Regions from separate parts of the Homo sapiens genome. Here all the other regions are linked to region 2. The links are contacts of gene promoters, found by promoter capture Hi-C in blood cells and fetal thymus (Javierre and others, 2016). All regions are on one chromosome and are shown on one strand. The core of a region is centred on a gene start or on the middle of the fragment in contact, and the rest is flanking DNA. Distances in the headings are between cores, read along the strand shown. Region 1 has its middle 83 kb from the start of CES1. Region 2 holds the start of MMP2 (matrix metallopeptidase 2). Region 3 overlaps CES5A (carboxylesterase 5A).

Region 1 (4,264 bases), core at 1,659-4,158, 270 kb after region 2:
AAGCTTTATATGAACAGATTGGCTAAACATACATGTTCAACACGTTACAGGGGGAGCAATGGATATTCATGAAGACAGTCCTGACACATGTGTATTAAACAAACATGCATGTAACATTGCCCATGTTCACCTGGTGGTGGAGACCTAATATTTAAATGTATTACAATTAGGGCTTATAAATCCAAGGGTCTTCTCAGGACACAAAGCCCAGCAAGTGAGCAGCCTCTGTACACCGGCCAGGTCCAGTCCATGGCTGGTGATATTCTTATCTGGAGAAAATAACTGAAATCAGTCTCTTATGCAATCAAAGCCGTAGTTAAGGCTGGTGGGCAGTGTTCTGTTCTTCCGAGTATCCAAGCTGCAGCCATTTTAATTGTTTTCATTTTGCTTAACTCCAGGCCAGTACTGGTTTAGCTGTAGACAAAAAGAAGCACCTTGCAGCAGGGAGAACAGAGTGGATTCTTTAAGGGTAGAGATGCAGGCCTGAACCCTTGCCCGGCATGGCCTTCGATCTTTTTTTAATTTGGTGTCTTATTGCCACAAGGAGTGTGTTCTGTCAGAATGATCACCTTTATTTTATTGCTGATACTCGTCCGGTGGTGTCTAAACCACAAAAAAGGGGGAGTATGATGAGGCGTGTCTGACCTCCTGTCTGTTTCCAGGCAGGAACTCAGTTTAGGGTTTTTCTGGGGTCCCCTTAGCCCAGAGAGGGTCTGTTCAGTGAGTTGGGGGTGTTAGGATTTTATTTTTAGTTTACATTATACAATATTTTTAAAAATCCTTTCATGATGTCTTCTAAGCCTTAACTCTCAGCTGTTACAGATCACATGGGACTCACCCCATGGCTGCTCAGGACGCACCATCGCCACTGGGCATGTCCCAATTATGCACCCTTAGGAGGCTTGAGTTCTGTTATATTTCAGAATGTGAATTGTGGGTGTGTGCAAGAGAGAGCAACCCTGGGAGGTGGGGCAAGCACATGGAATGATGCATGCCCATTGCTGAGCCCTAGGTCAGCCATGCTTAAAGGTAAAGTACACACAAATCCACCAGGATCTTCTAAATGTGCAGACCTCAGCTCAGTGGGTGTGGAGCATGCGCCAAGACTATGTTTCTAGCAGGTTTGCACGTGAAGTTGACAATGCAGGTCCGCGGACCACACTTTGAGTAACAAAGGCTTTTTTTCTTCTTCCCCACAGAGGGTGCCTCAGAAGAGGAGATCAGACTTAGCAAGATGGTGATGAAATTCTGGGCCAACTTTGCTCGCAATGGGTGAGGCTCTTGGCAAAGACACAGCACAGCTGGTGAGGGTGGGGGGCGGGGCATGCCTATTGGGAAGGGGCAGCTTCTAAGGTTCTAGCGATCAAACTTCTGACCCTGTGACCATAGCACTCTGACAATGAGAGCTCTCTACAAATGGAGAGGCCGCCCCTGGAGATAGTGAACTCCCCGTCTCTGGAGATATACAAGCCTCTTGACGGAGATAACTTGGGCGTCCTCACACATCTCTGAAGATTGTTGGGGACACACAGCAGCTTTGGGGCAATTCTATTTGATTTTGTTTCCAGAAACCCCAATGGAGAAGGGCTGCCGCACTGGCCAGAGTACAACCAGGAGGAAGGGTACCTGCAGATTGGTGCTAACACCCAGGCAGCCCAGAAGCTGAAGGACAAGGAAGTAGCTTTCTGGACCAAACTCTTCGCCAAGAAGGCAGTGGAGAAGCCACCCCAGATAGAACACATTGCGCTGTGAACGGAAGGTCCATCCAGCCTCAGGAACCTGGAGGAGCAAAGACTGGGGTCTTTTGCCAAAGGGATTGCAGGTTCAGAAGGCATCTTACCATGGCTGGGGAATTGTCTGGTGGTGGGGGGTAGGGGGCAGAGGTCATGAAGGAGCAAGTTTTTTATTTGTGACCTCAGCTTTGGCAATAAAAGATCTTTTGAAAGCCAAATCACTGCTTGTGTCTTGTATTAGAGATTAATCCATCCTCCTCAGAGACAGAACGATGATGAAAGAGGCAATGTGAGAAGGAAGCTGGCTTTGCTGGGGATGGCCTGGCCTCAGGACGAGTACAGTCCAGAGGGCTGGGTCATGGACAGTGCTCAGGGGAGCTCTGGGCCTACTGCATGTTTCTGAGCCCCCAAGAATTTCCAACAATAGGATTTAGGATTGCCAGAGTGCAGCATCCCTATCCTCCATTTGGATCTGCCTATGGAAATGGAAATGGCCCAGGCTGAGAATTTGCCTGGATCAGGGAAGAGAGAGAGGTGCCGAGGTGATCCCGTGGCACTGTTGGATGGCCTTTATTGACTCTTGCACAGGTCTGCCACACCTTCCTCAGTATGTACACTAGCCTCCTAGACCCCTCCCTGAGGCTGTCTCTTTCAACAGCTGGTCTAAACTCCCTCTGTAACCTGGACCACTTCTGTTGCGGGCACTGACCACCTTAGAGCAAGTCTCCAGAGGGTCATCCTAATACTGTGTCTTTCAGAATCTCAGGGGTGATTTCTGGATTCTGCTAGAATGTGGAAAACTCTAAAGAGTGTCACTCCTGCCTTATCAGCAAGAGAAAAAGCTGGATTGTCCTCAAAATCATAACTTTTCCTATTGCCCAGGAGAAAGATTGGGGTAGATAGTCAGACTAGAGAGGGCCAGGCATGGTGGCTCAAGCCTGTAATCCAGCACTTTGGGAGGCCGAGGCAGGCAGATGATAAGGTGAGAAGATCGAGACCATCATGGCTAACACAATGAAACCCCGTCTCTACTAAAAATACAAAAAATTAGCTGGGTGTGGTGGTGGGCGCCTGTAGTCCCAGCTACTCGGGAGGCTGAGGCAAGAGAATTGCATGAACCCGGGAGGCAGTGCTTGCAGTGAGCCGAGATCATGCCACTGCACTCCAGCCTAGGTGACAGAGCAAGACTCCACCTAAAAAAAAAAAAAAAATTCGCCCTGGGCAGAGCTGCAGGGGAGGGTGGGAAGCCGACTCAGGCCCTGCACCTGGGTAGCTGCCCCACCTGGTGCTGCCCCAGGTAACGCATGTACAGGATGAGCCTCCCTTCCCCCAGCAGGGACAGATCCCACTCAGTCCTGCCCCGCATGCTCTCCTAAAAGTTTGTATCAAGACTGTGCCTCATTATTCCCTGCGATGGGAAGGGCTGGGGAGAAAAAAACCTACCTTACCACTTGATTGTGTCAAAATACAAGGGAATTCATTGCAAAGAGCTTGCTGTGCTCCATGAACGGGGTGGAGCTCAAGTCTGAAATTAAAGGATGGGTAGGAAGGGGGATGGCCAGCCACAACGTGGTGGAAGTGTGACCCTGAGCAGTGGGGGCAAGGGGGCCAGCCCACGGGCAGCAGGGCTGGTGTTGGCAAGGTTGCTGGAGCACACCGTGGGTGCCTGGAGGACAGCTTTTCTACCTTGACATGTAGGAAACAGACTTCTCTCTTTATAGGAAGATAATGCCATAAAATGTCTGTCTACCTATCTGTCTATCTATTATCTATCTACCATCTATCAATTATCTATCTATCATCTATTACCTATCTAATCTATTTATTTCATTAATTACATTTATTTATGTAATTGTATTTCAAGCTCTATTTACCTCCTGAACTTTTCATGTGAGAGACTACATTTTATTCAATATATGCTTTAGGTAAGTTTCAGTTGGATTTCTCTTAGTACATATGACAGAGTCCTGATTAAAATCATTGCTGCATTTGATCATTTATATTCTATCCTGTAACTATAATTTATGTGATCACCAGTAATTTTATCTGTATCAATCTTGTCTCCTGTATTAGATAACAGGTTCTTAAGGTCTGGTACAAACATTTCAGTTTTTTATTGAACATAACATACATATAAGAAATATATATATATACACATACACACATACACACAAACACACACATGCTATGTATATATTATGACTTGATAACTTCACTAACTGATCACACTGTGTAATTAGGACCCAGATCAAGACACAATATTACCAGCATCCCAGAAGCCACATGGAGCTCAATTCCAGGCCCTGCTCACTTCCCCCTCCTTGCCTATCTACCCAAAATGGTCACCACAGTCCTGATGTCTAGCAGCAATATTTCTTTTTCCAGGTTTTGTGCTTTATATGAACAGAATCACATACTCTTGCATCTGGTTTCTTTCCCTCAATATTATGTTTATGAGATTCACGTGTATTGTTGTATATGGCTGTAGTTTGTCATCATTGCTGTATAGTCATTCATTGTATGGATATGTC
Region 2 (4,252 bases), core at 916-3,415:
ACAATAGAGAGTGGTGAGGACTGTGGCAAACCAAAGTATGTGCCTCATCTAAAGGGAGCAGTCACTACTCAACTTCAGCAAATTATTGCCATATGGAAACTGGCATCCAGTATTGCCAGATTTTTGGGAAATTTTTTTAAAAAAAGAAAACCAGAAAGTCAGATTTTTACATGAAGTTTCCCAAATTTCAAAATGCTGTTCAGGCTGGATTTAGCCCACAGGCCACGAGTTTGCAGCCCCTGCTTTAGTGAGATAACTTTTTCCATTTTCACTCTCAGCTCTCAGCTCTCCAACTTGGCTCTCTGGCTATCCACAGGACGTGGACATGAGCCCAGTGGGGCTGGGCCAGGAGGCAATCCCCCTTCCCAACTGACCTCAGTCTCGCCCTCTCCAAAACAGCCAAGGTTTGTCACTGGGTCAGGCTGAAGGGCCTGGCTCCCTCCTGCGGGGCAAGGTCCCTCCCAAGAGGGTCCTTTAAAACTGACTCTGGAAAGTCAGAGCACACACCCACCAGACAAGCCTGAACTTGTCTGAAGCCCACTGAGACCCAAGCCGCAGAGACTTTTCTAGCTGTGATGATCAAGACATAATCGTGACCTCCAATGCCCCCCACAAGTATATTGCTCCTGATTCTTTCAGCCCCTGACCTTACTTCTCAAACTGTTCCCTGCTGACCCCCAGTCCTATCTGCCCCCTTCCTAGGCTGGTCCTTACTGACCCCTCCAGCTCCATCCCCTCACCCTGTGCCCCACCTTTTTCAGATAGAAAAAACTTTCTTCTCCAGTGCCTCTTGCTGTTTTTCATCTCTGGGCCATTGTCAATGTTCCCTAAAACATTCCCCATATTCCCCACCCAGCACTCCACCTCTTTAGCTCTTCAGGTCTCAGCTCAGAAGTCACTTCTTCCAGGAAGCCTTCCTTGATTGTCTTTACTAGTTTAGGGGCTGAAGTCAGGCGTTCCCAACAGCCTGCTGGAGTTCCCCATCACAGCTTATCTCTCAACTGTCTTTCCTGAGAGAGGGAGAAGACATTCCTCAGAGACGGTTGTCACAGGGAGAACTTCAAAATTGGGATTCGACCTGAGAGGCCACATGGATTCTTGGCTTGGCGCAGGAAAGGATTCAAGAGTGAGTGGGGAATTCGTGGAACTGAGGGCTCCTCCCCTTTTTAGACCATATAGGGTAAACCTCCCCACATTGCCATGGCATTTATAAACTGCCATGGCACTGGTGGGTGCTTCCTTTAACATGCTAATGCATTATAATTAGCGTAAAATGAGCAGTGAGGATGACCAGAGGTCGCTTTCTTTGCCATCTTGGTTTTGGCTGGCTTCTTCACTGCATACTGTTTTATCAGTGGGGTCTTTGTGACCTCTATCTTATTAAACCAGTCTTGCCCAATTTCTATCTCATCCTGTGACCGAGAATGCGGACCCTCCTGGGAGTGCAGCCCAGCAGGTCTCAGCCTCATTTTACCCAGCCCCCTGTTCAAGATGGAGTCGCTCTGGTTCCAACGTCTCTAACGCGGGGCCCCTGACTGCTCTATTTCCCAAGGTGTATCTAGCATCTCGCACTATACGAGGCCAAGTTAAGGCTTACACATTTGCAGAAGGAAAGAGGTAAGGAAGCAACCTGGGACCTTCCACTGTCTCTGTTTCCATCTCTCTCTTTCCATCTCTGTTCATCCCAGAATCTCTCTGTCCCTATCCCTAAATATCGAAAATTTCTGTCTCTGACCATCTATCATTGTGGCTGATCATCTGTTTCTGACCATTCCTTCCCGTTCCTGACCCCAGGGAGTGCAGGGTGTCCTAGCCAAGCCGGCGTCCCTCCTAGTAGTACCGCTGCTCTCTAACCTCAGGACGTCAAGGGCCTAGAGCGACAGATGTTTCCCAGCAGGGGGTTCTGAGGCTGTGCGCCCAGATCGCGAGAGAGGCAAGTGGGGTGACGAGGTCGTGCACTGAGGGTGGACGTAGAGGCCAGGAGTAGCAGGCGGCCGGGGAAAAGAGGTGGAGAAAGGAAAAAAGAGGAGAAAAGTGGAGGAGGGCGAGTAGGGGGGTGGGGCAGAGAGGGGCGGGCCCGAGTGCGCCCCCCGCCCCCAGCCCCGCTCTGCCAGCTCCCTCCCAGCCCAGCCGGCTACATCTGGCGGCTGCCCTCCCTTGTTTCCGCTGCATCCAGACTTCCTCAGGCGGTGGCTGGAGGCTGCGCATCTGGGGCTTTAAACATACAAAGGGATTGCCAGGACCTGCGGCGGCGGCGGCGGCGGCGGGGGCTGGGGCGCGGGGGCCGGACCATGAGCCGCTGAGCCGGGCAAACCCCAGGCCACCGAGCCAGCGGACCCTCGGAGCGCAGCCCTGCGCCGCGGAGCAGGCTCCAACCAGGCGGCGAGGCGGCCACACGCACCGAGCCAGCGACCCCCGGGCGACGCGCGGGGCCAGGGAGCGCTACGATGGAGGCGCTAATGGCCCGGGGCGCGCTCACGGGTCCCCTGAGGGCGCTCTGTCTCCTGGGCTGCCTGCTGAGCCACGCCGCCGCCGCGCCGTCGCCCATCATCAAGTTCCCCGGCGATGTCGCCCCCAAAACGGACAAAGAGTTGGCAGTGGTGAGTTGCTGCGCTGGCCTCAAGGAACCACGTTTAGACAAACTTCGGAGGCAAAGGATGGGGGTGTCTCTCCCCCTGCCCTCGGCGGTGGGCACACAGCGTGGGGGAGGGGCTTCGGTAAACAGCTTGGGGGGTCTTTGGCAAGCTATTGGAGTGATCTCTTGCAAACGGTGGGGGATCTTTTGTAAGCAAAGAAAACCTTTGATAAACAATTTGGCAACCTTCAGCATACAGCAGTGGGGCGAAAAACAAGCCAGAGAGTGGGAGAGGGGTGACCTGGCAAACTACTGGAAAGGGACTCTTATGTAAATAGCGGGGACATCCTCTAGTATCTGGGACATTTGGCGGGGGGGGGGGGCGGTCTTTGTAAACAACTTTTGGACACATCTGGGCAGTTGCTAAGGGCTCTTGCCAAGCGTCTAGGTAAGCCTTTGGCAAACAGCTACAGGGGTCGTTTTTGCTAATGTAGGACTTTGGGAACGGTGCTCTGGCACACAATTTGGGTAAACTTATGCGCGCATAAGGATGGGAGGGAGCTTGGTCAAAGCGGGGCTTGGCAAATTTCTAGGAACCTTCGGCACAGATCCGGAGAGGGACCTTTAAACAAACAGCTCGAGGGGGCCATTTGGGAAGTGATTGGGGCAGGAGGGAAGCAGAGAGCGCATCTTTTTTCTCCTGGCTTAATGGACAAATTGGTCAAGGGCTGGGCCTCGGAAAGTTTCCTCGAACTTCTCCAAAGGGTCGGAGAAAAGAAGGAGAGAGCTGGCCCGGCAGGAGGGAGGAGGAGTGGGGCAGGCGCTGGAGGGCCCGGCGCGTGGGGCGGGGGCGGACTGCGCTCCGCTCGGGTCGGAGAGCGGCCAGAGAGCCCTCCTTCCTGGCTGGGCTCCCAAACCGCGGTTCAGATGTTGTCTTGTGAGCGTGCGCGCGCCTGGCTGGAGGGGCACTGAGCCTGGCCGCAGTGTTGCGTAAGTAGGGCCTGAGGAGAGAGGCAGGCCAGGGACCCATCAAGATGTCCTTTCCAGTCCAGGGGATATCTGCTCCCTTGTTGCTTCAGCCACCCTGCCCTCCAGCCTCCCCCTCAACCTGTCCGGGAGAAGACGCCCATGCCCTCTGGTCACCCTAGGAACTCCTTCAGGAGGTGACAACTACCCTCTCCCAACTCTCACCCTTCCAAACAGCTAGGTCTCAGCCCCCTCTGGATAGATGGGTTGGGAAACCTCCATACATTTTTAGAGGGCTACTTTTTTCAAGGATCTGGAGCTGGCTGGCATAATGATGTGGCTGTTGGGTGGGGGTGAGAGTGGAGCTTTGGGACAATGACAAAGCTACTTGGTTTCCTACACCTTTTCCAGCCAATGGGTCACAGGATGAACCCCTAAATTGGGGTTCAGCCTGGGGGCCACATGGGTTCTTGGCTTGCACAGGAAGGAATTCAAGAGCGAGCCAACAGAGTAAAGTGAAAACAAATTTATTAAGAAGGTAAAGGAATAAAAGGGTGATTATTCCATAGACAGAGCAGGGAATGGGCTGCTGGACTGAGTATACATATGGTTATTTCTTGATTATATGCTAAACAAGGGGTGGATTATTTAAGAGTTTTCCAGAAAAAGGGTGGGGAGTTCCTGGAACCGAGGGTTTCTCTCCCTTTTAGA
Region 3 (4,237 bases), core at 883-3,382, 390 kb after region 2:
GTCAAATTGTGTGTGGACAAGAAAGGAGTAAAATATTTGCAGGAAAAGTATACAAATCCCAAATGCGCTAAAGTCAGACTGCTTTGCAGGCATCTTTAAGTTTGCGCCCACTGTAAAGAAACTGAAACTGCAATTTGAGGACAGTGAATTTTGCAGGTGGTTTATGCAAGACAATCCATGTTGGAAATCGAGTCAGCAGACCAACTCTGCAAACATAAGGCCCTGTATCAAACTGTTGGTGAGGGAATATACATTTTATGGTTTAAATTAAAATAAAATATTTACATGTATCTTTTGGCATTTCATGTCTTAGCTGAGTTTCCTATTAAACAAGTGATTACCATTCTGGCAATTGAATACTAGGGTTTCTCCTCTACAAATATAAGGGATTTTTCCTCAAATTATTACTCACTATGTGACCTTAGGTGATTTATTTAAACTTTCCCAGTGACAGCTGTCCTGTATGTGAAATGAGACTGAGCCCCTAACTCATAATGTGTTGTGAGGCTTGAAAAAGACAATGTGTATTAAAGGGTTTGTTCAACATGAAGGCAACAATCAAATGTTAGTGACTCATCATCATTTTTGGAACCTCCGGCACTGAGATTCATTCAAACCACAAAGCAGAGAACTCACAAGACTAGAAACACTTATGGCTCCCGCGGACTCGCCAAAGATGGTCACAGAGCTGGGGTCCCCACCGAAGAACTCGATGTTCTTCTGGACCCAGGACAGAGCAGCCACCTGGTCCTTGAAGGCCCAGTTCCCCGGAGCATGCTGATCCCATGTGCTGAGGACAAGAGGCAGGGTGAGAATTCTTGGTCAGCCATGGTGTGTTTCCCACAGCCCTGGAAGTTCTCAGCAGAGGCTGTGGGCAGGGGTCAGTGGGGAGGGGGCGGAGAGTCAGAGGCCTGGAGGAGCTGGGGAAACCGGACTCAGTTCTCACACTTTGCTGAGATTTGGATTTCTTTGAGAATTTGATGAAAGCTATGCACCTAAGAAAAATGCACATTCAATATTGTAGCTGCAATTTCAAGTATTCACAGGTTCCTCAGAATCCATGAATCCCAATCCATGAATCCTGTGTTGCCCAGGCTTGTCTGGAATCCATGAATCCATTCCTGAGAGGTGATCTGTACTAGAAAGCAAGAAGTTTCCTGGGCACAGAATTTTCCATGAAACTAAATTAATAGTAGTCACAATAACAATTAACAGGCCAGGCACGGTGGCTCATGCCTGTAATCCCAGCACTTTGGGAGGCCGAGGCGGGCAGATCATGATGTCAGGAGATCGAGACCATCCTGACTAATATAGTGAAACTCTGTCTCTGCTAAAAAAAAAAAAAAAAAAAATACAAAAAAATTAGCTGGACACGGTGGCAGGCGCCTGTAGTCCCAGTTATTCGGGAGGCTGAGGCAGGAGAATGGCTTGACCCCGGGAGGCGGAGCTTGCAGTGAGCTGAGATCATGCCACTGCACTCCAGCCTGGGCAATAGAGTGAGGCTCTGTCTCAAAAAAAATAAAAATAAAAAAATAAACAAACAAACAAAAAACAATAACAGCAGCTGCAGCATGTACCAGACACTGTTCTAAGGGCTTTAAGGCTAATACTCCTACAACCCTCACACCTATGAGGTAGGTGGTGCTGGGTTTTCTCCCTTTGCTTTTTTGGGTCTTCTCCACCCTTCTCTGCTCTGCCCCTCAAAAGCTGACCTCTAGGAATGACATCACCCAGGCCTCAGCTGTGTGCCATGAGGGTGGGCTAGAGAGAGACTGCGATGTTTATCCCCCAACCCCGTGCTCCCTCTCTGCTGGGAAGTGTTTGGGCAGAGGCTGCTTTTCTCCACAGCAGCAGCTCATGCCAGCTCCCTTCCACTAAACCTGTGAGCCTGCTGTCAGGAAACCAACGGATACATCAACTCTTTAATTCAGGCACAGAGAGGTTAAACCCTCTTGCCCAAGAGCTAGAAAGCTGCAGTTTTGGGATCCCACACCCCCATGCTGCTGCCCCTGCACAATTGCATGTTTCCCGGGATGGGATTAATGAGAGAACAAATGAAACAAGTGGAAATGCCATAGAACCAAAGAAATGTCTAGACCGAAAGCATGCATGCAGTGCACGTCACCCTGGGGCACATTCTACTCCCCTCCATTTTCCAGTTCTCCAGACTGCTCCTTCCCCTGGGTCCCCTCCACTGTCTATGACCACTGAGCTGGCTCTCACTCCACCTTCTCTCTCCCAGGCCCCTGCTCAAGAGTCAAGCCCTGCCAATTTTACCTCCATTCTACTGTGGCTCCCACCCTGGTCCCCATTTCTCCATCTCTGTTTATCCTGAGAAGCATTATACCTTAGTGGTTACTATCTCAGCCTCGAGCACAGGATTCACAGCCTGGCCACTTATTATCTGGGTGACCTTGGGCAAATCACTTAACCTGCTTTGCCTCAATGCTTCTCATGTCTAAAATGGGGATAATGATAGTGCCCACTCCACATGGTTGTGAAGATTGACAGTGCCAGGCAGAAAATAAGCATGTCATATTCACGTTATATACATGTTAGCTATTGCTTTTGTGGTTGAATGACCCCATGGCCTGCATCAAGACAGTGCCTCCCAGTGGGGCTCCCTATCTGCAGCTGGGCACCCCTGGCTCAGCCTCCACTCTGCTCCAGAGTGAGGTTCCTGGTACACTACTCTGTGAAAGGTACTCCTGGTCCTCAATCTGTGTTGGATAAAGCCAAAACTCCATGTATGGCCTGGCATTCAAGGCCTTTCCCTATCAGGCCTGTCCTTGCCTTCCCGCATCCATCTCCTGCTGTAGCTTCATCTACCTATGATCAAAACCAGATACGATAAGCAATTATTGAAAGCTCTTCTACCAAAGGAATCTTATGCAGAATCCTAATATATAGAGCAGCTAGAAGTGTAATTACTCTGGTCAGGGCACCCCGTCAGCCTCTCCTGCCTGCAAAGCACTCCCAGAGCTACATTCCAGGGCTACAGGCCCAGTGCAGTCTGCAAAAGTATTGCTTCATCCCCATGTGTTGCTACCTCCCTCCCAACTTCCTAGTTTTTGCACAGGTAGCACCCTTTGCCAAGCACATGTTCTCTGAACCCCTTCTCCTCAAGCCCAACCACATCCTTCTGGTGCAACTCCAATGTCACCCCTCTCTGAAGCCTCCCTGATCCCTTGCAACTCCCTCCTCTGTTTCCACAGCTCCATGGCCTCTCACTCTTGGAGAATTAACCATGTCCTTCTTGGTAATGTGGATATTTTTGTCCCTGCATTATCTCTCCCATAGTCAGGAGCCTCTGTAAGGCAGGATTCATATTTGAATCATTGCTGCCTTTACCATAGTATGTGACAGTGACCCGCAAGCATAATCCTGGCCCCACCTCTCACTTCTCCTCTTTGTTTACATTGGACCCTCATCAGGACTTCTCCTGCCATGTCTTAGACAGGATAATAGAAGCAGTCAAGAGACCTAGCTCTGTTTTGTGACCCCTGGGAAGTTGTTTGGCCTCTCTGGGCCTCCATTTTCCAGCTGTGAAATGAGAATAACAACAGAGAACCTTCCTTGAAGGATTATTTTGAGGGTGAGTTGAAATAATGCATGGCAAGTGCACAGCCCCATGGCTGGTTCAGTGAAAGCCCAGTACATGTTAGGCCTGATTGGAGGAGGGAAGCCACTGTGATAGAGTGATGATTCTCAGGTGAGCATTCGAGAAGACCTGGGGTGAGGCTCAGGTAGACACCACCGACTGCTCACACAAACAGTGTCCTGTTCTTCCAGGGCACACAGTGGGGCTACATGGCCCCAGCTCGCTTGCAGCTGGATGTGGCCATGTGACTGAGTTCTGCCAATGGCGAGTGAACAGAAGTGACAAGTGCCACCTGCAGGCTGGGCCAGGAGACCCTCCATTGCATGATCCTCCATGCTGTCTCGGTCCACCCACCAAATGCAGAAGATCGAGGCCCTAAAGAATCCACATCAGAGCTCAAGATGTGATGAGCCAGATCCCTGGTTGACCATGAGGAAGAATGTCTGCCGATCAGGGATGCTCAATTAAACTTTACCCAAGTGAGAAAGAGATTTTTATTGTTTCAAGCCACCAACATTTTGGGATTTATCTGCTACAGCTGCAAAAATTACCTAAGTAATTAGGGCCAGTTTTGTTCATTGTCCCGGAAGGCTCGCTCCTTCTTAGGTTGCTGGGCACTGTCTATGGCTACTGCAC

The links. Contacts are between HindIII fragments. The CHiCAGO score rates a contact against its expected background, and 5 or more counts as called.
Region 1: a contact is called between a fragment that was not itself captured here and the fragment with the promoter of MMP2 in region 2, in 1 of 17 cell types (M1 macrophages). The highest score is 5.3, in M1 macrophages.
Region 3: a contact is called between a fragment that was not itself captured here and the fragment with the promoter of MMP2 in region 2, in 1 of 17 cell types (monocytes). The highest score is 5.2, in monocytes.

The regions. Positions count from the first base shown.
Region 1 is chr16:55,748,362-55,752,625 of GRCh38, forward strand. It overlaps the pseudogene CES1P2. Among named protein-coding and RNA genes, the nearest start is that of CES1, 83 kb to the right of the region's middle. RefSeq lists an enhancer at 4,184-4,264. The HindIII fragment of the contact is 5,815 bases long and covers 2-4,264 here.
Region 2 is chr16:55,477,033-55,481,284 of GRCh38, forward strand. MMP2 (matrix metallopeptidase 2) reads left to right here and starts at 2,166. Exons shown (of 13, transcript NM_004530.6): 1 at 2,166-2,600. The coding sequence starts at 2,448. The HindIII fragment of the contact is 12,132 bases long and covers 1-4,252 here.
Region 3 is chr16:55,865,327-55,869,563 of GRCh38, forward strand. It overlaps CES5A (carboxylesterase 5A), which reads right to left. Exons shown (of 13, transcript NM_001143685.2): 5 at 637-790. Among named protein-coding and RNA genes, the nearest start is that of CES5A, 7.9 kb to the right of the region's middle. The HindIII fragment of the contact is 7,799 bases long and covers 1-4,237 here.